Regions from separate parts of the Homo sapiens genome. Here all the other regions are linked to region 1. Evidence: promoter capture Hi-C in 16 types of primary human blood cells and fetal thymus (Javierre and others, 2016). All regions are on one chromosome and are shown on one strand. The core of a region is centred on a gene start or on the middle of the fragment in contact, and the rest is flanking DNA. Distances in the headings are between cores, read along the strand shown. Region 1 holds the start of ZNF778 (zinc finger protein 778). Region 2 overlaps PIEZO1 (piezo type mechanosensitive ion channel component 1 (Er blood group)). Region 3 overlaps GALNS (galactosamine (N-acetyl)-6-sulfatase). Region 4 overlaps SPG7 (SPG7 matrix AAA peptidase subunit, paraplegin). Region 5 holds the start of SPG7 (SPG7 matrix AAA peptidase subunit, paraplegin). Region 6 overlaps CBFA2T3 (CBFA2/RUNX1 partner transcriptional co-repressor 3).

What was found. The method cuts DNA at HindIII sites, captures the fragments that hold promoters and counts their contacts. A CHiCAGO score of 5 or more calls a contact.
Region 2: a fragment that was not itself captured here is called in contact with the fragment with the promoter of ZNF778 in region 1 in 4 of 17 cell types (monocytes, neutrophils, fetal thymus and 1 more); the score reaches 8.7 in monocytes.
Region 3: a contact is called between a fragment that was not itself captured here and the fragment with the promoter of ZNF778 in region 1, in 1 of 17 cell types (naive CD4 T cells). The highest score is 5.1, in naive CD4 T cells.
Region 4: a fragment that was not itself captured here is called in contact with the fragment with the promoter of ZNF778 in region 1 in 2 of 17 cell types (endothelial precursors and total CD4 T cells); the score reaches 5.7 in endothelial precursors.
Region 5: the fragment with the promoter of SPG7 here is called in contact with the fragment with the promoter of ZNF778 in region 1 in 2 of 17 cell types (endothelial precursors and megakaryocytes); the score reaches 6.3 in endothelial precursors.
Region 6: a contact is called between a fragment that was not itself captured here and the fragment with the promoter of ZNF778 in region 1, in 11 of 17 cell types (naive CD4 T cells, activated CD4 T cells, total CD4 T cells and 8 more). The highest score is 12.4, in naive CD4 T cells.

The regions. Positions count from the first base shown.
Region 1 is chr16:89,215,982-89,219,146 of GRCh38, reverse strand. ZNF778 (zinc finger protein 778) reads right to left here and starts at 1,444. Exons shown (of 7, transcript NM_001201407.2): 1 at 1,237-1,444. It overlaps ZNF778-DT (ZNF778 divergent transcript), which reads left to right and starts at 1,494. Exons shown (of 1, transcript NR_186410.1): 1 at 1,494-3,165. RefSeq lists enhancers at 28-557, 558-1,088, 1,613-1,662, 2,612-2,906. The HindIII fragment of the contact is 2,087 bases long and covers 1-1,523 here.
Region 2 is chr16:88,751,463-88,754,627 of GRCh38, reverse strand. All of the region lies in intron 1 of PIEZO1 (piezo type mechanosensitive ion channel component 1 (Er blood group)), which reads left to right. Among named protein-coding and RNA genes, the nearest start is that of PIEZO1-AS1, 10 kb to the right of the region's middle. The HindIII fragment of the contact is 1,378 bases long and covers 762-2,139 here.
Region 3 is chr16:88,852,455-88,855,619 of GRCh38, reverse strand. The region is part of intron 1 of GALNS (galactosamine (N-acetyl)-6-sulfatase); the gene reads left to right. LOC107983950 (a long non-coding RNA gene) reads left to right here. Exons shown (of 2, transcript XR_933884.3): 2 at 1-492. Among named protein-coding and RNA genes, the nearest start is that of GALNS, 2.9 kb to the left of the region's middle. RefSeq lists a silencer at 610-679. The HindIII fragment of the contact is 3,253 bases long and covers 1-2,876 here.
Region 4 is chr16:89,550,518-89,553,682 of GRCh38, reverse strand. SPG7 (SPG7 matrix AAA peptidase subunit, paraplegin) reads right to left here. Exons shown (of 17, transcript NM_003119.4): 13 at 3,074-3,165; 14 at 548-704. Among named protein-coding and RNA genes, the nearest start is that of RPL13, 8.6 kb to the left of the region's middle. The HindIII fragment of the contact is 5,190 bases long and covers 1-3,165 here.
Region 5 is chr16:89,506,683-89,509,847 of GRCh38, reverse strand. It overlaps SPG7 (SPG7 matrix AAA peptidase subunit, paraplegin), which reads right to left and starts at 1,445. Exons shown (of 17, transcript NM_003119.4): 1 at 1,248-1,445. The coding sequence starts at 1,430. It overlaps LOC101927863 (a long non-coding RNA gene), which reads left to right and starts at 1,528. Exons shown (of 5, transcript NR_188547.1): 1 at 1,528-1,611. RefSeq lists silencers at 952-1,071, 1,102-1,661, 1,732-1,941, 2,062-2,131. The HindIII fragment of the contact is 2,077 bases long and covers 114-2,190 here.
Region 6 is chr16:88,945,238-88,948,402 of GRCh38, reverse strand. All of the region lies in intron 1 of CBFA2T3 (CBFA2/RUNX1 partner transcriptional co-repressor 3), which reads left to right. The region is part of intron 1 of LOC100129697 (a long non-coding RNA gene); the gene reads right to left. Among named protein-coding and RNA genes, the nearest start is that of CBFA2T3, 30 kb to the left of the region's middle. The HindIII fragment of the contact is 3,830 bases long and covers 1-3,165 here.

The DNA of each region.
Region 1 (3,165 bases), core at 195-2,694:
GGATGACCTCCTTCTTATTTTTTTATTTTTTTATTTTTTTGAGACGGAGTCTTGCTCTGTCGCCCAGGCTGGAGTGCAATGGCACGATCTTGGCTCACCGCAACCTGTGCCACCCAGGTTCAAGCGATTCTCCTGCCTCAGCCTCCCGACTAGCTGGGATTACAGGCATGCGCCACCATGCAAGGCTAATTTTGTACTTTTAGTAGAGACGGGATTTCTCCATGTTAGTCAGGCTGGTCTTGAACTCCCGACCTCAGATGATCCACCCGCCTCGGCCTCCCAAAGTGCTAGGATTACAGGCGTGAGCCACTGTGCCCAGCGGACCTTATTATTTTTAATTATTATTATTATTTTTTGAGACGGAGTCTCGCTCTGTCGCCCAGGCTGGAGTGCAGTGGCGCCATCTCGGCTCACTGCAAGCTCCGCCTCCCGGGTTCACGCCATTCTCCTGCCTCAGCCTCCAGAGTAGCTGGGACTACAGGAGCCCGCCACCACGCCCGGCTAATTTTTTGTATTTTTAGTAGAGATGGGGTTTCACCGTGTTAGCCAGGATGGTGTCGGTCTCCTGACCTCGTGATCCACCCGCCTCGGCCTCCCAAAGTGCTGGGATTACAGGCGTGAGCCACCGCGCCCGGCCTAATTTTAATTTTCTTAGATGAAATACTAATATTGTGGTTTCAGTAGGATAATGTCCTTACCCTTAACAGACGCTTTACCAAGTATTTAAAGGTTAAGTATCATGTGTGCAGTTTAATTTCAACTTACTTACACTCAAATAATAATTCACCGTAAGGTTTATTTATTGGGGGAGAGAGAAAACATGGCCCAAAGCTAAAAAGGAGTAAAACGATTGCAGTGGATATTCCTTGTAGCAGATGTTCACATTTTTATTAGATTCAGATTTTCTAAAGCAAAACGTGAGAAAAAATACAGTTAGTCGAAACACACTGTTCACCGTGGATTCGATTACTCCAAGACCAGCGGGACAACGGCCGCATCCCTCCCGCCCCGAGGGCCGGGCCTGGAAGTCCCGGCGGCGAGGGACGCGCGCTCCCGCTGGCCCCCACGGGCTAACTTTCACAGGGAGCTGCACGCCCGGGGCGCTCAGGGGTCTACCTTACGCTTCGGTCCCAACACAATGTGCCAGAAACAAATAAAAAACGTCAAAGCCGAAGCCAGATTCTCACAGAAACACGCCCTGTTCAAAGTGAAGGAAGCAAAGGGCCCCTCTCTCACCAGCTCCGCGGAATGGAAGCGCTGCCCGGGTCTACCGCGAGCGGCGGCGACTTTCCCTTCTGGAAGCGGTGCCGGGGGCGCAAGGCGCGAGGCAGGCGGGCGGGCGCCCACTCCCGGACCAGCTTCCCCGCGGACAGCCCGAGGACACGCGCGGAACTCTCCGGCGCCAGCACGCACCGCCGCAAGAACCGGATCAGCTGTAAGACAGGCGGAGGCGGGGCCGGCGCCGGAAGAGGGGCCGGCGCGTCTTTGGCGTCACTTCCGCCTCCAGCCTCCGGGCCGAAGCTTTGGCCTATGGTGCGGGGAGGTAGTAGTTTCTTCCGCGAGGGTGCGGGAGGGCCCCGGGGCGCCCTTGGGAACCGGGCTGGAGGCAGAGACAGGCCCGGAGGACCAGGCGGACGTAAGGATCAGGCCTCTGGACGCAACTGCGGAGCCGGAACAGACCAGGAGGGCGCGGTTGGGCGGGTACAGCCAGGAAGTGCTCGTCGCGAGCGCGGCCCGCGGTTCGGTCACAGCGAGAAGCCCGCGGGTGCTGGGAGTGCTCGGTCTTCTCTCGATCTCTGCAGGGAGTCACTGGCCCCGTTCCTTTTTATCTGTCTGAACATCACGCCGAACTTTTAACAGTTGATTCCACTGCATTTTCAATGTGGTATTTTTTTTTTCTGTAAATGTTCATCTATTTTTCGCTTCAAATATGCGTTTCTGTTACTTTTCTAATGTACCGTAGGAGCCAAGACCACCTATACTACGTTGCAAAATAGCACTGATACCAGGGGTTCTCCCAAGGTTCATTCAGAAATGTCACATGATTCCAGTAACAATACGAAAAGGTTTTTTTTTTGGAACCAGGCATATTGATCCTGGAGTTCACATGGAGGAACAAATGTCTCATAACGCAGACGACGCGGACAAACAAAAGCGCAATGCCCGACAGATGCGAAAACAGCCTCTGTCATTAAAACTGTGTGCTAGTGACACATGAACAGGAAACAAATGGAATATCCAGACATCAACCCAGTAACATGGAAATTTGGTTCATAAACATAATTTCAGAGCGGTGGAACAAACATGCAGTTTATAATGAAAGGTGCTAAGACAAATGGTTAGCCGTCTGAGAAATGATGAAATTAATTCTGGATCTCACAGGGATAAACTCCAAACGGATCAGGAGTCTAAATGTGAAAAACAAAACAAAACCACATGTGAAGTGTTCACGTGATTTCGTGGCTGATTAAGAAACAAGATGTGCCCAGGAGGTGGCGGTGGCGCACAAGCTTTGACAGGTTGGAGGGTGAGGGAGTCTCACGCACCATGAGATTACCCACAGGCTTCGAATTGGGGGTCACTACTCAGAAAAGAGAAAAAAATGAGCGTGGGCGGGGGGCGCGCAGAGAACTCCCAGAGAAGAAGGAGATCAGACAGGGGGAGGGCTGACGTGACTAGATCACGTTTCTCAGCAGCCTGACAGGTGTCTGAGTCACAAAGCTCTGAAGGGCAGCAACGGCTTGCAGTCTTTAGAGCCCCAGGATTTATCTTATCTATGGCTAGCAGAGATTGGACACAATTTCACGAAGTATACAAAGCAACCACATGCTAAATGGTTCAACACTATGAGTGTTTGGGATGTGTTTTATTTATTATTTATTAATTTTGATACGGAGTCTCCCTCTGTCGTCCAGGCTGGAGTGCAGTGGCACGATCTTGGCTCACTGCAACCTCCGCCTCCCAGGTTCCAGCTATTCTCCTGCCTCAGCCTCCCAAGTAGCTGGGATTACAGGTGCCCACCTTGTAATTTTTAGTAGAGACGGAGTTTCACCATGTTGGCCAGGCTGGTCTCAAACTTCTCACTTCAGGTGATCCACCCGCCTCGGCCTCCCAAAGTGGTGGGATTACAGACGTGAGCCACTGCAGCCACCGTGCCTGCCCTTG
Region 2 (3,165 bases), core at 201-2,700, 460 kb after region 1:
GCCCCATCCGGCAGCCCTCCCTGTGACAGTCCTTCAGGCCTCGTCAGGCTTGGTTCAGCCCGTGTTAGAGGAGGCCAGACAGCTCCTCCTCGATCACCACAGGGAACGAGGGTTGGGCAGTTTCTCCTCTCCCACCCGGGCGTGGGTCAGCTGCAAGGGTCTCATCCCAGGAACTGGATCCTGGCAGGGGGGCTCAGGCATCTGACATCCCCTGGCAGGTCTTCCTATGTGCCAGTGGGAGTGGGTGGTGTCCAGCCCTCTTTGTGGAATGTTCCGGTTGAGTGGTGTGTGGTCCTGGTTACCACCATGTGGCATTTGTGGCTTTCCTGGCCAGCACCCACTGAAAGCAGAGGCCAGCCCAGCCCTTGGACACCCAGGGGCCCAGCAGCTACCGTGGGGGCAGCCTCTCCCCTCCTGACTGTGCTCCTCTCAGCTGTAGGATGAAGGTCTGTGGATGGGTGATGGCTGGGCTCTCTGCTTCCCAAGGAGCTGGATGTGGGCCATAGTCAGGCGTGTGCTGGTGAGGCGAGGGGGTTGGGGGTTGGGAACCACAGCTCTCTCTGACCCCATCCCATTGCAGCTGACTCAGGAAAAGGCATTACCCCCACGGGGTCACAGGCCCAGCCTGGGCAGCTCCTGATGGGAACATGGGAGCCACAGGGCAGGGCAGGCTCCTGTCCCCGCTCCTTGGATTGTCTCAGGCCCCGCCTCCCCTTTGGCTGAATTTCTTCCTTCTCTGCCTGAGCCTGATCTGCGAAGCTTCCGACCTGCCCTGAGTTGGAGCCAGTCTTCAGGGCCAAAAGCAATGCCGTCTCCTCCAGGCAGCCTGCTCTGAAGTCTCCCCCTCTGGCTTTAGCCCACAAAGTCACAGCTGAGGCCACATCAACACACTTAGACCAAGAGCACTGCCGGCTGCATAGACAGCACAGGTAGATCCAAGGAGTGTTTCGAAAAGCCGTGGCCCTGCGGCCGGGATGCCCGGACCTGGGTCCTGACCACTCTTGGGAGCTCCTCCCCTCTCAGAGCCCATCCCATCTGAAAATGGGGGCATTGGAGCATTGGAGGAGTGCTCCTCACTCCTGCCCTGCTAGCCGGCTACTCCGAGGACCCCAAGACCAGATGATGGGAGAAGTGGTGGGCTGGGCTGTGACCCTGAGCCCCCTTCTCATCCCACCCGTGAGGCTGCCCCTGCTTGGTGTCTGTGGCAAGGCTGACAGAAGATGGCGCCAGGGACCAGCCAGGGCCCTCCTGTCTCAGCCCGTCCTTGGGTGAGTGGGTGTGCTCTGGGGGTGGCAGGTGTGCTCCGGGGGCGGGAGGTGTGCTGCGGGGGGCCGGGTACGCTCTGGGGGGGCGGGTGAGCTCTGGGGGGCTGGGTGCGCTCTGGGGGGGCTGGTGTGCTCTGGGGATGGACAGGTGTGCTCTGGGGGGCGGGGTGTGCTCTGGGGATGGATAGGTGTGCTCTGGGGGGGCGGTTGTGCTCTGGGGGGGCAGGGGTGCTCCGGGGGTGAGTGTGCTCTGGGGGGCGGTGGGTGTGCTCTGGGGGCGGTGGGTGGGCTTTGGGCTAAGTAGCCCTCTTCCTCTCTGAGCCTTTTCCTTGTCTGTGTTGTTGGTGAGTGGCCGCCACCTGGGACAAGCCTTAGCTGTCTGTCCAACTGTCCACCATGTCCCCGGACCCTAGACCAAGCCCGCTGCCTGGTGGGGCCTGCTTGGTATTGAATGAATGAATGAATGGATGAATGGATGAATGGATGAATGAATGAGTGAACAAACTCTGGGGGGCGTGTTGCTGATCACCCCAGGGCAGGCCCGTGGTGGGTCATGGTCTCAGGCAGGGGACTTGCCCTGCCGGGTGACGTTGGCCTGCCGGGGAACCCCTGCCAAGGTGCCTCCCATGCCCCCATCGTCCTCTGCCTTTGAGTCCACTCTGCCCCTCAAGGTTCCCCTCTGGCTCGGCCAGGGGCAGGGCGGTCAGGGAGGCCTCCAGCTCCAGCCCCTCCCTCATCTCCATCCTCAGCCCCTGCACCCGCCTCATCTCCAGCCCCAGCCCCTTGCAGCCTCAGGCTCGGGCTTCTGAGAATCCTTTGCAGATTTCAGGGCTGGTTATTTTTTTATTCTGGCAAAATATACATCCATAAAGCTTTGTTTCCTGAGATGATCTCACCCTGTCGCCCAGGCTGGAGTGCGGCAGCGTGATCATGGCTCACTGCGGCCTCAGCCTCCTGGGCTCAAGTGATCCTCCTGCTCCAGCCTCCTGAGTAGCTGGGACCACAGGCATGCACCATCATCCCCGGCTAATTTTTGAATTTTTTTGTAGAGATGGGGTCTCTGTGTTGCCTGGTCTGGTCTCGAACTCCTGGGCTCAAGTGATCCGCCTGCCTTGGCCTCCCAAAGTGCTGGGATTACAGGCCTCAGCCACCACACCCGGCCTAAAGTTTGTCACGTTAGCCGCATTGAAGGGCACAGGTCAGCAGCGGTAAGCATGTTCGCATTGTTGTGCAGCCATCACTGACACCCATCTCTAGAACTTCTTCGTTTTCCCAAAGGAAACTGCACGCACGGCACCACCTCCCTGGCCTCCCCACAGCCTCAGGGTCTGGTGACCTTCATCCCCAGGACCTACGCTTCTGACTCCAGGAGCCCTGCCTGGTGTCCACACCACACTAAGGTGCCCTGCCACGGGCTTCGAACCCAACCCTGGTGCACTTGTTGAGCATTGGACGTTCCTGGCAGGTCAGACCGTGAGCTCCTCTGCTCTGACGGATGCATGGACGGCTGCCACCTGGCTGGACAGGTGCAGAGGGGAGGTGCCACCTTCTCTGGGGACAGGACTGGGGCAGAACTCACCCGGCTGAAAAGTGCAGCTGTGGAGAACTTCAGAACTTCAGAAGCCTTTGCTGTGAATGCATTTTCCTCCTGCCTCTTGGGCCAGATCTTAGGGATTTTTTTTTTTTTTAATGAAAATGTATAATCGTCAAAAAACTTTAGATTTAAAAGCATGGAGCCGATGGCTATGCTTGGTGCGTTAATGGGAGGAAGAGGGGATCTTAACTTCAGGGAGGGCTCCTGGGGGAGCTGGGGGAGGCTGCTGTGTCCAGCAGGGCGGGCGGTGCCCCCCGGAGCCCGGCACTCCGCGATGTGTGCGCTAAGCCGAGGCCGCCTTGAGCC
Region 3 (3,165 bases), core at 1-2,500, 360 kb after region 1:
AGATAACAGACACCACCCATAATTTCCCCACCCAGGGGTGACAGCCGACAGTCCTGGGCAGCTGCTTTTCCATCTCATATGTCTTATTTGTGTGCAGTGACTGCTTTCCAGAGCACGCTCTCCAGCGCCCAGGGGTCCGTGTCCTGACAGCAGTAGCCGGGCCTTTCTCTGCACTGAGTGGCATCTCCCTCCTAAAGATACTTTGCTTCAGAATTTCATCCTTTCACTTTTGAAGTTCCTCTGGGCCAGTGTAGATACTTTGTTTCAGAATTTCTTCTTTTCATTGTGTAACTCCTTCTGGGCCAGCATAGCTTCGCTGGATGAGCTGGGCTCTGCAGGTGAAGCCTCCCTGTTAAGTTTCTGCTTTTCCTGACTTTCTCAGAGGACAGAGGGGTGAGGCGGGGCAGCTCATGAATAATTTTTTATGTTGAAGACTTGTCGAAATAATATTTTGGTTATGTTGGGTTAAATAAAATATAAAGTTAGTCTGTATTTCACCTACTTCTGCTTTTCTAATGTGGCTCCCGGTAAATAGGGAATTGCATGTGGACTCACCCTACGTTTCCATAGGACAGCAAGGGTTCAGGCCGTGCAGGGTGGAGGGGTGGGGTGTGGCCACCGGGGCACATGTGGGGGAGGGTGACAGGAAGCCCCGCCCACCTGGGCACCTGTTCTGTGGCCTCCACTGTGTGGCTTGTGGGGTCGTTTGGCAGCTGACGCCTAAAGAACCCCAGAGGAGCTGTGTCCTGGCCGGTAGGTGTACTTGTAAGGACTTTCTGATGCAGACAGCAGAAGATGAAGTCAAAGTGACAAGCAACAGTGGGGATTCCCTGGCCCTCCTGAGTCGACAGACCAGGGCCGCCTGGCGAGTTTCCCCTTTCGTGGCTCTGCTGCCTCTGAACTGGCCACATCCTCACTCAGCCTGTGATGGTCCTAGGTGACTCCAAGTCACCCCTGCAGTCAGCAGACCCAGTGGGAGGTTGGCTCTGCCCGTGTCATGTTAGCGTGATGTGGGTCTCAGCCCTGCGCCAAGCACACTGGGGGAGGGGCACATGCTGACCTGTCCAGCCCAGGCCTCGGAGCCTCGGGCCTACCCCAGAAGGGAGACTGCCCCTGATCATCTCATCTGCCTGGACCCAGCAGAGAGGGGGTTCCCTGAAGGGCCCATGGTGCAGCTGCCAGGACAGGGCAGGGATGCTGGCAGGTGAGAGCCACAGAAGCTCACAGTGGAGCCCCGAGGTGCCCTGACGTGGCCCAGGGTGCAAGGGGGTCCTCACAGGCTGTCTTCTCTCCTTGGAGTCCGGGGCTTCCTCCGCAGCCCTGTCCACACCTCTTCCTGCACTGCAGACCGGTTGTTTCTGCCAGGGCGCTGGCGTCTGAACCTGCAACAGGTCATTCGGCCTCTGGCATGACATGGGATGGCTTGATGACCCACAGCTCTGGGCCCAGCACCACTTGAGGACGAGTGTGCATGTCTCAAGTTCAGATTTTGGAGCATGGCCCTCCAGGGACCGGCTGCCTCCAGCCCAGTCTCCCCCTATCCAGTCCTCTGTGGCTGGGCAGTGGGGGGCCTGGGCCCCCCTTTCGTCTAAGCAAGTGCAGTTTCAGAAAAGGGTTGTCCCCAAAACTAGCTTATTGCACCCCTCATGGCCAGAAGCCACTCTCCAACTGGTCACACTGACCCGGGAGAGAACCATTGCCCCCAGAGTCGGGACCAGAAGGGGAAGCTGGGACTCAGGGGTGAGAGCAGCTGGCAAGAGCCCCCACCTGTCCAGGGGGAGCTGAGCCGGGCAAGGACGGGTCTACCTGCACTCCCCAGGGCTGCCCTGCCCTGGCCTTTCACTGACCCACGGTCCAGCGCGGCCTGGCTTCGTAGTACCCTGGGCACCTGCTGCGTGAGTGAGGAAACCTGCGTGGCCCACTCTGCTCTCCAGGGCTTCTGGGGCCTTGGAGACAGGTGAGACCCAGTGACAAGTTCCACTCTGGCCCACACACAGCTCCTGCCTCCCAGGGCGAGCAGCACTCTGTGTCTCCACTCCTTATTTGGAAAATAGGGTTAAGGAGGGTCAGCCCTGACCACAGAGGAAGTGGAGAGTCAGGGCCACCCAGGCCAGCTCCTGTTGCCACAGCAGCCTCGTCGAGCCACCAGAGTCCGGGGAGGGTTGCTCAGTGCCCCTCGTTTGAAACAGACAAGCACTGGCCTGCTCGTCTTCATAATAATCCCATAGCAACCAGTAGGAATGGAAACTGCGTTTCTTAAAACTCTGAAATTCTGAAGGATACTGATCCATGGCTCACAGCTGTGCTCGCTGAACGTGGACAATCATTTGGGGGCTTTTAGGCCTTTTTTTTTTTTTTTTTTTTTTTTGAGATGGAGTCTCACTCTGGTCACCCAGGCTGGATTGCAGTGGTGTGATCTCAGCTCACTGCAACCTCCGTCTCCCAGGTTCAAGCAATTCTCCTGCCTCAGCCTCCCGAGTAGCTGGGACTACAGGCTCCCACCACCGTGCCCAGCTAATTTTTGTATTTCTAGTGGAGACGGGGTTTCACCATATTGGCCAGTCTGGCCTGAAACTCCTGACCTCAGGTGATCTGCCTGCCTCAGCCTCCCAAAGTGCTGGGATTACAGGCATGAGCCACCACACCCAGCCAGGACTTTTTTTTTGAGACAAGGTCTGGCTCTGTCACCCAGGCTGGAGTGCAGTAGCTCGATCACAGCTCACTGCAGCCTCAAACTACTGGGCTCAAGCAATTTTCCTGCCTCAGCCTCCTGAGTAGCTGGGATTATAGCCGCCCATCACCACACTCGGCTAATTAATTTGATCTTCAATCACTGATACCCTTTCTTCCACTAGATCGAATCGGCTACTGAAGCTTGTGCATGCGTCACGTAGTTCTGGTGCCATGGTTTTCAGCTCCATCAGGTCATCTAAGGTCTTCTCTACACTGTTGATTCTAGTTAGCCATTCGTCTCATCTTTTTTCAAGGTTTTTAGCTTCCTTACCATGGATTCAAACATCTTCCTCTAGTTCGGAGAAGTTGGTTATTACCGACTTTCTGAAGCCTACTTCTGTCAGCTCGTCAGAGTCATTCTCTGTCCAGCTTTGTTCCCTTGCTGGCGAGGAGCTGCGATCCTTTGGAGGAGAAGAGGTGCTCTGGTTTTTA
Region 4 (3,165 bases), core at 138-2,637, 330 kb before region 1:
CTCCCGAGGACCCACCGTGAAGCTGGACAGTGAGGACGTTGGCACCTCACCACTGTTCCTTAAGAGAGTCTTAAAACTTTCCGAAATGCTCTTTTATTTGGAAATCTAGAACCCGGGGGCATACTGGAGCTCACTGCATGGCAGTTCTCAAGCACAAGCCCAGGCCTATGCGAGGCAAACCCATGGACCTGGAGCCCAGGGGCCCCCGGGACCCTCCTTCAGCTCTCTGGATATCCCAGTGCAGTAATGGCTTCAGAACAATGAAGCCGCTTCAATTTTATTCCGTTTCCTGTAGCCATTACCAACAATTAACCAATTAAATGTGTCTAGAGTTGGCATATAGGTTAAGTTTTTGTCCAATTAAATTATCTAAGAAGTCTTGCTTAGCTCCAACTCTCTTATGACCACAACTTATCTTTTACAAAATACTTAATAAATTCAAAGCTACGTCTACACCAGATTCACCCCATGGCATGCACTGGAACAGAAGGAGTCATGCAGGGAAAAGCGCTCTGAAACCTCCAGGGCCCGCGCCGCTGCTCCTCACCAGAAGTGACCTCGTTGAAGGACAGTGCTTCCGAGGCCCGTCCTCCCAGGGCCATGCACATCCGCTCAAACAGCTGCTCCTTGGTGAAGAGGTGCTGGTCTCTGGGGAGCATCTGAGCAAAGCCCAGGGCGGCGTTTGTCCGAGGGGTTATGGAGACCTGGCACAAGGTCAAGATGACCCAGGTCAGTAGGCAGGATGCGTGGGCTTTGAGGAGGAAGGTGTGGGACTAAGAGGTCTCCGTCATTAAAGCGTCTCAAAGCAGGAAGGCAAATGTGCAGCATCCTCTACAACAACAGGGGATCCTAACACTCTAGATGGCCAGCCCAGAGACAGCAGCGTTCCCACCACAGGTGCCTGTTCACACACTGCCGGGAAGTGTCTTCTCATACATGACTAGACAGGCAGGGAGTCAAGAAGACAAGGCCCGTAGAAGACAGCTGAGAGGCGAAGGACAAGTTTCACCCCCGATGGCCGCTGCGCTGACCCCTCACACCAGCGACAGCTACTGAGGGTTCAGAGCAATGAGAACCCCACGATGCTGAGGCAGCAGAGGCTGTCCTCACCTCTGCTGCTCCCCCACAGCCCCACATCAGGTGTGCAAGGAGGTGGCGCGGGGCAACGAGCTAACTCGACAACACGGAACCGCTGAGTGGGAGACGGACGGAGACGGGGCAGGGGCTGGCCCAGCTGCTGCTTCTGAGAATTGTGGCGGCGAGATGGCCACATCCAAGTGCTCTGAGAATCCCGAGGACGCTTAATTTAAAATCTAAAACTAGGCTGGGCGGGGTCGCTCACATCTGTGATCTCGGTACTTTGGGAGTTAGAGGTGGGCAGATTGCATGAGCCCAGGAGTTCGAGACTAGCCTGGGCAACATAACGAGACCCCTTCGCTACAAAAAATATAAAAATCACTCGAGCCACCAGTGGGGCATGCCTGTAGTCCCAGCTATGCAGGAGGCTGAGGTAGGAGGATCGTGTGAGCCCGGAAGGTCGAGGCTGCAGTGAGCTGTGATCGCACCACTGGACTCCGGTCTGGGCAACAGAGAGAGAGACCCTGTCTCAAAACAAAAAGAAGCTCTAAATAACGGCTGCAGTGATGATTGCATTAATGACCAAAACCATAACAGCCAATTCACAACCTTTTCCTGGCAGGACACTGAGCCTTGGGAAAGAGACTCACTTTTTCATTGTGACTATCTGACTTTTGCCCATCAAATACAGTAAAAATTCTTTTTTTTTCCCTTTGAGAGACAGTCTTGCTCTGTCACCCAGGCTGGAGTACAGTGGCACAGTCTTGGCTCACTGCAGACTCTGCCTCCCGGGTTTAAGCGATTCTTGTGCCTCTACCTCTCAAGTGGCTAGGGTTACAGGTACGCACCACCACGCCCAGCTAATTCTTTTGTATTTTTGGTAGAGATGGGGTTTCACCAGGTTGGCCAGGCTGGTCTCGAACTCCTGACCTCAAGTGATCTGCCCGCCTTGGCCTCCCAAAGTCCCTGCATTAATTTTGATTTCTTGACATACCGTGTTAAAACGTCGTGTTCACTGCTGAGTTTTTTAGTGTCCCATAAATGGGACCCCCAGCTGAGTGTCCACTCGCCCCACAGTGGGCCTAGCTCTGGTCCCATGACTGTGGTGCACATCGCCAAGGAGCAGCACGGATCTGGTCCCCAAACGCTGCCTCAGCCCTGCTGAGACCCTGGGATGGGCAGGACGCTCTCTGATTAACACGCAACTTTGCTACAACTCACACCTGAGAACCAATCACGGAGACCAGCACTGACAAACCAAGCTGGCAACTGCTACAGCGTATGCATTGTTTGCAGTGAACCCTGAGGTAGGAACACAGCACTGCCGCCTTCTCAGGTGAGCCTCAAACCTGCACGGCTTCCTGGGGCTCCACTGTAAAGACGGCACCTGCGTTCCGAGTAGAGACCTCCTCTTGGCAGCACTCGGACTCCCGGTGGTGGAGCCACGTCTTAGAGAAGCTGTAACATCACCATTTGGTAAGAATAAATGTCCATCGAGTTCACAGCTGCCTACAAGAGTAGTTTTTTGTTTGTTTGTTTGAAGTAGAGACAGTTTTGCCCTGTTGGCCAGGCTGGTCTTGAACTCCTGACCTCAGGTGATCCACCATGCCCAGCCTAGAATAGTATTTTTTAAATGTACACTCAACTCACTTCTTTCCAATGTTAGGAGTCATTTGGGGTGGACAGGCAAAGGCAGCGAAACCCCATTGCATGGTGTAACCTTCCACGAGTCACCCCAGTAGCAGCACCATGCTCCGATGTGACACAGCCCACTCCTGCCTCCCACGTCCGAGTTCCCGCCCATCAGTCGCCACCCACCCTGCTCCATGGATCATGACAGTGGCAGGCTTTCCTCTCACATGACCTACAGACACAGGCGGGACTCCCCAGTCAGCTACAGACACAGGCGGGACTCCCCAGTCAGCTACAGACACAGGCGGGACTCCCCACCCACCTTTGGCCAAGGCCCGTGGAGCCGGCACCTGCCAAGACCCACCTTCATCACGGCCTCCGTGTGCTCCAGCATCCAGCCCACCAAGGCGTGGCCCGACTCATGAAACGCAACCACTTTCTGTTCTTCCTTGGACA
Region 5 (3,165 bases), core at 196-2,695, 290 kb before region 1:
CACTGCACTCCAGCCTGGGCGACACAGCGAGATTGTCACAAAAAAAAAAAAAAAAAAAAAAGAAGAAAACAAAACACAGAAGTACATTGGCTGCTATCCCATGGCCTGAAGCTTCTGCAGGAGAAAGGGAGCAGCCCAGCTCTCCAAAGGCCACAGTGGCTGCCCAGACACGGGGCTCCTGCTGTCACCAGAGAGTGGCTCCTTGTAGAACATTTCCAGGTACCAAACCAGTTAACAAGTATATACTTTCAGAGTTCTCCTTTCAAGATAAACATTTTCCCATTTAAATATGTTTTATGGCCGGGCGCGGTGGCTCACGCCCTGTAATCCCAGCACTTTGGGAGGCCGAGGCAGGCGGATCACAAGGTCAAGAGATGGAGACCATCCTGGCCAACATGGTGAAACCCCGTCTCTACTAAAAATACAAAAATTAGCTGGGTGTGGTGGCGCGCACCCGTAATCCCAGCTACTCAGGAGGCTGAGGCAGGAGAATCGCTTGAACCCGGGAGGCGGAGGTTGCAGTGAGCCAAGACCATTGCACTCCAGCCTGGGCGACAGAGCGAGATCTCTGTCTCAAAAATAACCGAAAAAACAACAACCTAAAAGGTGTGGGCTAAGCTCCTAGGCGAGGGCTAGGAGAAAAAAACATCAGCCCAAAAGCTGAAGGACACAAGGTCTGGTTTTCGGGAGGAGATGCTATCCTATCCTTAGCAGAACCTGAAACAAGGCCGCACTACAGGGGGTGCTCAATGACTGTATCAATAACGTGCCGAGCTACATGACAACAGCAAAATGCAGCTACAGGGTATTTTGCGGACACAGAAACGTTCTGGGCCCCCTACTCGGCAATAACCACCCTAACTGGAAGGCGCTGGAATTCCTGGTGACGGAATCGATCCACAGGCGTGGACTGTAAATTAGTGCTACGCCGGAAACCGTTACTGGATTCCACTTTAAAAGGCGAGGAAGACGGGCGGAGAACATCCACACACAACAGACGGGTTGGGAAAGTCCACGCCGAGGACTGCGCGGATCCCAGCCCTGCCTCTTCCCGGCCCGCCCAGCGCCCACGATCCAGGGCCCCAACAGTCGCTCCGCGCCGAGGTCCACAGCTGGGGGATCCGCGGGCCCACAGGCGCAGGCTCCCCCGCCGCAGGGGCCAGGCGGCCTCCGACCCGCCCCGCCGGGCTGGGCCTTACAGAGCAGAGCCGGGCGGGAGGTGGGGCCCGGACTCCGCGGGGATTTACCTGCAGAGCTCGGCCTCCAGCCTCGGCGAGGTCCCCCGGAGGCCTGCTGGCCATGTACGGCCGCCCCCTCCCGGGCCTGGCGGGGAACCCTGGACTCCAGGCCGGGCCTGGGCCCCACAGCGGCCGAGGACCCGGGCCTGGACCCCGGCGGAGGGCACGGAGCAGCAGCAGCAGCACGGCCATGTTGGCCTGAAAGCCGCGCCTGCGTGATCCGCGGGGCGCTACACGGCGCCTGCGCGGCGGGGTGGGCGGGGTCTGACGTGGCGCCTGCGCGGTCCCCACAGCTGCGCCCCGCCGCGCCCGGGTGCCGCTTGCCGCACCCCCGAGCCTGAGCCCGTCTACCTCGTGGCTGCCTGAGGCCCGGGTATGGGGGCGCGCGTCTGCGAGGAGGTCGCGGGTGCCCTGGTTTTTTTGAAGCCGGCCTTGTATTCCCAGGGCCTGGCGGGTGAATAACCGGCCGGGTCGTGGCTGCGTGGTCGTGCTCCGCCCGCGCCGAGGGGCCTCACGCCCGGGCAGCCTGCGTCACCCGCAGGGTTCGGTCACAGGCGAGGGCGGATGGTGCGGGCCGGAATCCCGCCTGCGAGTAGAGGCCCGCGCTCAGGAGGGCGGCGCCGGAGGCCTCGGGTCGGGAGGGCCCCTTCGGGTGTGAGGAGCGCAGGAAGGGGGCGGTTTTCCTGCGTCTTGAGCCGCCCGAGGACGAGGACTGAAGTTGCAGCCGCCGCAGGGAGGGCAGCCCCGGAGGAGGAGGGTCGTGAGGGAGGGAGCGCGCAGTGCGGCGCGGCCTGGCAGGCGTCTGCAGAGCTCGTCCCGCACACCTCTGACTTCGGAGCGCTCCGTCCTGTGCCTTCGGACTGGCTCACCTCGGAGGCGCTTCGAGCCTCGGTCCTGCCCCGGCCGCTGCGCGAGCCCATCGTAGGAAGCGGGGAGGCGCCGTCTGGAAGCTTAGGAAGAGGCTCTGTTCTCTTCAGGGTCCGCCCTCCGGGCCCGGGCAGGGTCCCTCGTGGGCTCCCAGGCGCGCGGGGTCCTCCGCCACCCCGACCCCTTCCTCCGTCCGCCTTAGGTCTAGAGCTGACGCCAAGAGCTGGAAAGCTTGTTGAGTAGGAAAAGCAAAGACTAGATGGTCTGTCACAGAGGTAGGATGAGGGTGACCTATTTATTTTTATGCTTTTCTGTACTCCGCAAATTCGTAACAGTGAATGCCAGTGACGACAGCCAACATCACCGAGTGCCTAGCTCCGTGTCGAACACCCATGTAATATTCACAACCCTGTGCAGCGAATACAATACCTCTATTTTACATGTAAAGAAAGATTCAGAAGTATTAAAAGTAACCTGCCTAGGATTACAGCTCTGAAGTTAGGGCAGAATTTCAAGGCCGGTCTGGTTTGTTTCTGGACCTGCACTCACTCCACCACTACAGACGAGGTTGCAAAGCCAGTGGGCTGCGTGTAATCCTCCCTCTTCCTCAGCCCCGAGACGCTCAGGAAAGTGTTTTCAGTTATCGTGGTTATCCGCCCTCAGCCCTCCAGTGGGCCGGGTGCCTCGGCAGAGGTGCTCGGGGCTGGGGAGGTGTTCTGTTGGTTTGTGGAGAGGACCTTCCCCTACACCCAGGGCTGACACTGATTTTCACAACTGAACCGCTTTTCCTTTTGCTTCTTATTGTACAGTCAGCCTTCGCAGTGAATCCAACCTTGCCGTTTCCTCCTCCACTATTTTTTCTTTCCCTGATTGAAAGACACCAGGTGGGCCGGGCGCGGTGCCCTCCCCCTCCCTCTCCCTGCCCTTCATCCCAGCACTTTGGGAGGCCAAGGCGGGCGGACCACGAGGTCAGGAGATCGAGACCATCCTGGCTAACACGGCGAAACCCCGTCTCTACTAAAAATACGAAAAATTAGCCGGGCGCTGTGGCGGGCGCCTG
Region 6 (3,165 bases), core at 335-2,834, 270 kb after region 1:
ACCCCTGCACAGTCACCCTCTCCCAGTTCCCCAAGAAAGACCAACGTCTCTCTGCCTGGGGCCAGCCTGGTGCCTTGCCCCCAGCTCCCCACTCGCCACGAATGTGTCTCTGCTGCAACCTGCTGATTTCTTGTCTTTGCATGAAACAGAATTGAGGGGGGACAGAACCGATTTGTCAGCTGATAGTTATTAAAAATGACTTTGATGACCAATCACCACGTGGCTTGCGGCATCTGACTCTCAGAAGGAGGTCACAGTGAGATGGTTAGGACACAGCTCCCGTTCTGATCGAGTTATTTATGGGACTGAAGATTCTCTGGCTTTCACATTAAACACCCACCACGGGAATGGAATTAATGTCAAATCCTGTCTTTTTCTGGCAGTATTATTCATGCATGAATACACAAACTACTACCAAAAAGTGCCCCTCCCTCCTTTTACGAGATGTCTTCCAACAAAAATTTACTTTGTATCTTTATTTTTATTTTTGAGACAGGGTCTCGTTCCATCACCCAGGCTAGAGTGCAGTAGCGTGATCATAGCTCCCTGCAGCCTTAACCTCTTGGGCTCAAGCAATCCCACTGCCTCAGCCCCCTGAGTAGCTGGGACTACAGGCACGCACCACCACACCCGGCTAACTTTTTTATTATTTGTAGAGATGAGGTCTTGCTATGTTGCCCAGGCTGGTCTTGAACTCCTGGGCTCAAGCGATACTACTTCCTTGGCCTCCCAAAGCATTGGGATTACAGGTGTGAGCCACCAAGCCCAGCCTACTTTGTATCCTTATTAGTTCTCAAAATGTGTAATACATTCACATTGTTTGTATCGGTTGTATACTACCAATAATTATAACGATAATCCAGCCCAGGAAATAAATTTTAACATAGGAAAATGTTTAAATCTTGACATTCCAACTATGTACCTAGTTTTGTACGATAGGGGAATCAAAAGACTTTCAAACATGAAAACATATTAGGATAAAAATCGGCTGGGTAGAATGGAAGGAGGCATTAAGGGAGAGAAGGGCCATGTAGAGATTCAGGCGCTGCAGAAGAGTCTGTTTGTATCTGTCTTTTAAACGGCAAATAAAATGTCATTGATATCCTCATTTTTGTCTGCTGAATTTTTTAAGTTAATAGATTTTATTCTTTAGCGTGGTTCTGGGTTTACAGGACAACTGGGCGGAAAGCGCCGAGTTCTCATTACTCTTTCCGACTTGTTCCCTAGTGGGGGGTCCCTACATTGCACCTGGCACTGGTGTGATACATTCGTTACAACCGATGAACCAATACTGACACCTTTTCATTAACTGAAATCCATAGTTTACATTGGGCTTCTCTCTTGGTGTTACATTCTATGTGTCTAGACAAGCATATGACTTGCGTCTACCATTAGACTGTCATACAGAATAGTGTCACTGCCCTAAAAATCCTCTGTGCAGTCTGGGCAACACAGCAAAACCCTGTCTCTACAAAAAATAAATACAATTAGCTGGGGCTGAGATGGGAGGATCGCTTGAGCCTGGGAGGTCAAAGGATGCAGTGAGCTGTGATCACGCTACTGCACTCCAGCCTGGGAGACAGAGTGAGACCCTGTCTAAAAATAAACAAACAAAAAAACTCAGCCAGAAGCAGTGGCTCGTGTCTGTAATCCCAGCACTGTGGGAGGCCGAGGTGGGCAGATCATGAGGTCAGGAGTTCGAGACCAGCCTGGCCAACATGGTGAAACCCTGTCTCTACTAAAAATACAAAAATTAGCTGGGCGTGATGGTGGGCGCCTGTAATCCCAGCTACTCGGGAGGCTGAGGCAGGAGAATTGCTTGAACCCGGGAGGCAGAGGTTGCAGTGAGCCAAGATCATGCCACTGCACTCCAGTCTGGGAGACAAGAGCAAGACTCTGCCTCCAAAAACAAACAAACCTCTCTGCTCTCCCTACTCAACCTTCCCTATTCTATAACCCCCTGAAAACCACTGACCTTTTTACTACTTCCATCATTTTACATTTTCCTGAATGCTATTGAGTTGGAATCAGACAGTATATAGCCTTTTCAGATTGACTTCTTAGCAATATTCACTTTTTTTTTTCTTTTTGAGATGGAGTGTTGCTCTGTTGCCCAGGGTGGAGTGCAGTGGCATGATCTTGGCTCACTGCCACTACAACCTCTGCCTCCTGGGTTCAAGCAATTCTCCTGTCTCAGCCTCCCAAGTAGCTGGGATTACAGGCACCGCCACCACGCCCAGCTAATTTTTGTATTTTTAGTAGAGACGAGGTTTTGCCATGTTGGCCAGGCTGGTCTCGAACTCCTGACCTCAGGTGATCCGCCCCCTTCGGCCTCCCAAAGTCCTGGGATTACAGGTGTGAGCCACCACGCCCGGCCATCAATGTTCACTTTCCATGGCTTGATAGCTCACTACTTTTGTCATGGATAACACTCTATCGTCTACATATGCCACAGTATTTTATGTATTCACCTGTTGAAGGCGGTCTCAGTCGCTTCTAAGTTTTGGTAAAAACGAATGAAACTTCTATCAACATTAATGTGCAGGGTTTTGTGTGGACATTAGTTTTTAACTCATTTGGGTAAATACCAAGAAACGTGAATGCTGGGTGGCGTGGTAAAAGTGTGTAGTTTCATAAGAAACAGTCAAACTGTCTTCCAAAGGGCTGTACCATTTTGCATTCCCGTCGGCAATGAATGACAGCTCCTGTTGCCTCACATCCTCACCGGCATCTGGGGTTGTCCGTGTGTTGAGTTTTAGTTATTCTAACAGGCGTGTCGTGGCCTCTCGTGGCTGTGCTGACCCACTCTCTAGTGGCAAGGCTGCTGGGCATCGTTTCCTGTGCTTATTTGCCAGATCATCTTCTAGATCTCTTCTCTGATGAGGTGTCTATTCAGATCTTTTGCTCATTTTTAATGGGGCTGTTTGTTTTCTTATGGTTTGGTTTTAAGAGTTCTTTGTATATTTTAGATAACAGTTGTTCATCAGATATGTGTTTCCCAAATATTTTCTCCCAGTCTATGGCCTGTCTTTTCATTCTCTTCATAGTGTCTTTTGCAGAGCCGAAGTATGAAATTTTAATGAAATCCAACCTGCCAAATTTTTATTGTATGCATCATGCTTTTGGTGTTATATTTAAAAACTCACTGTTCTAGGTAGGGAGCTG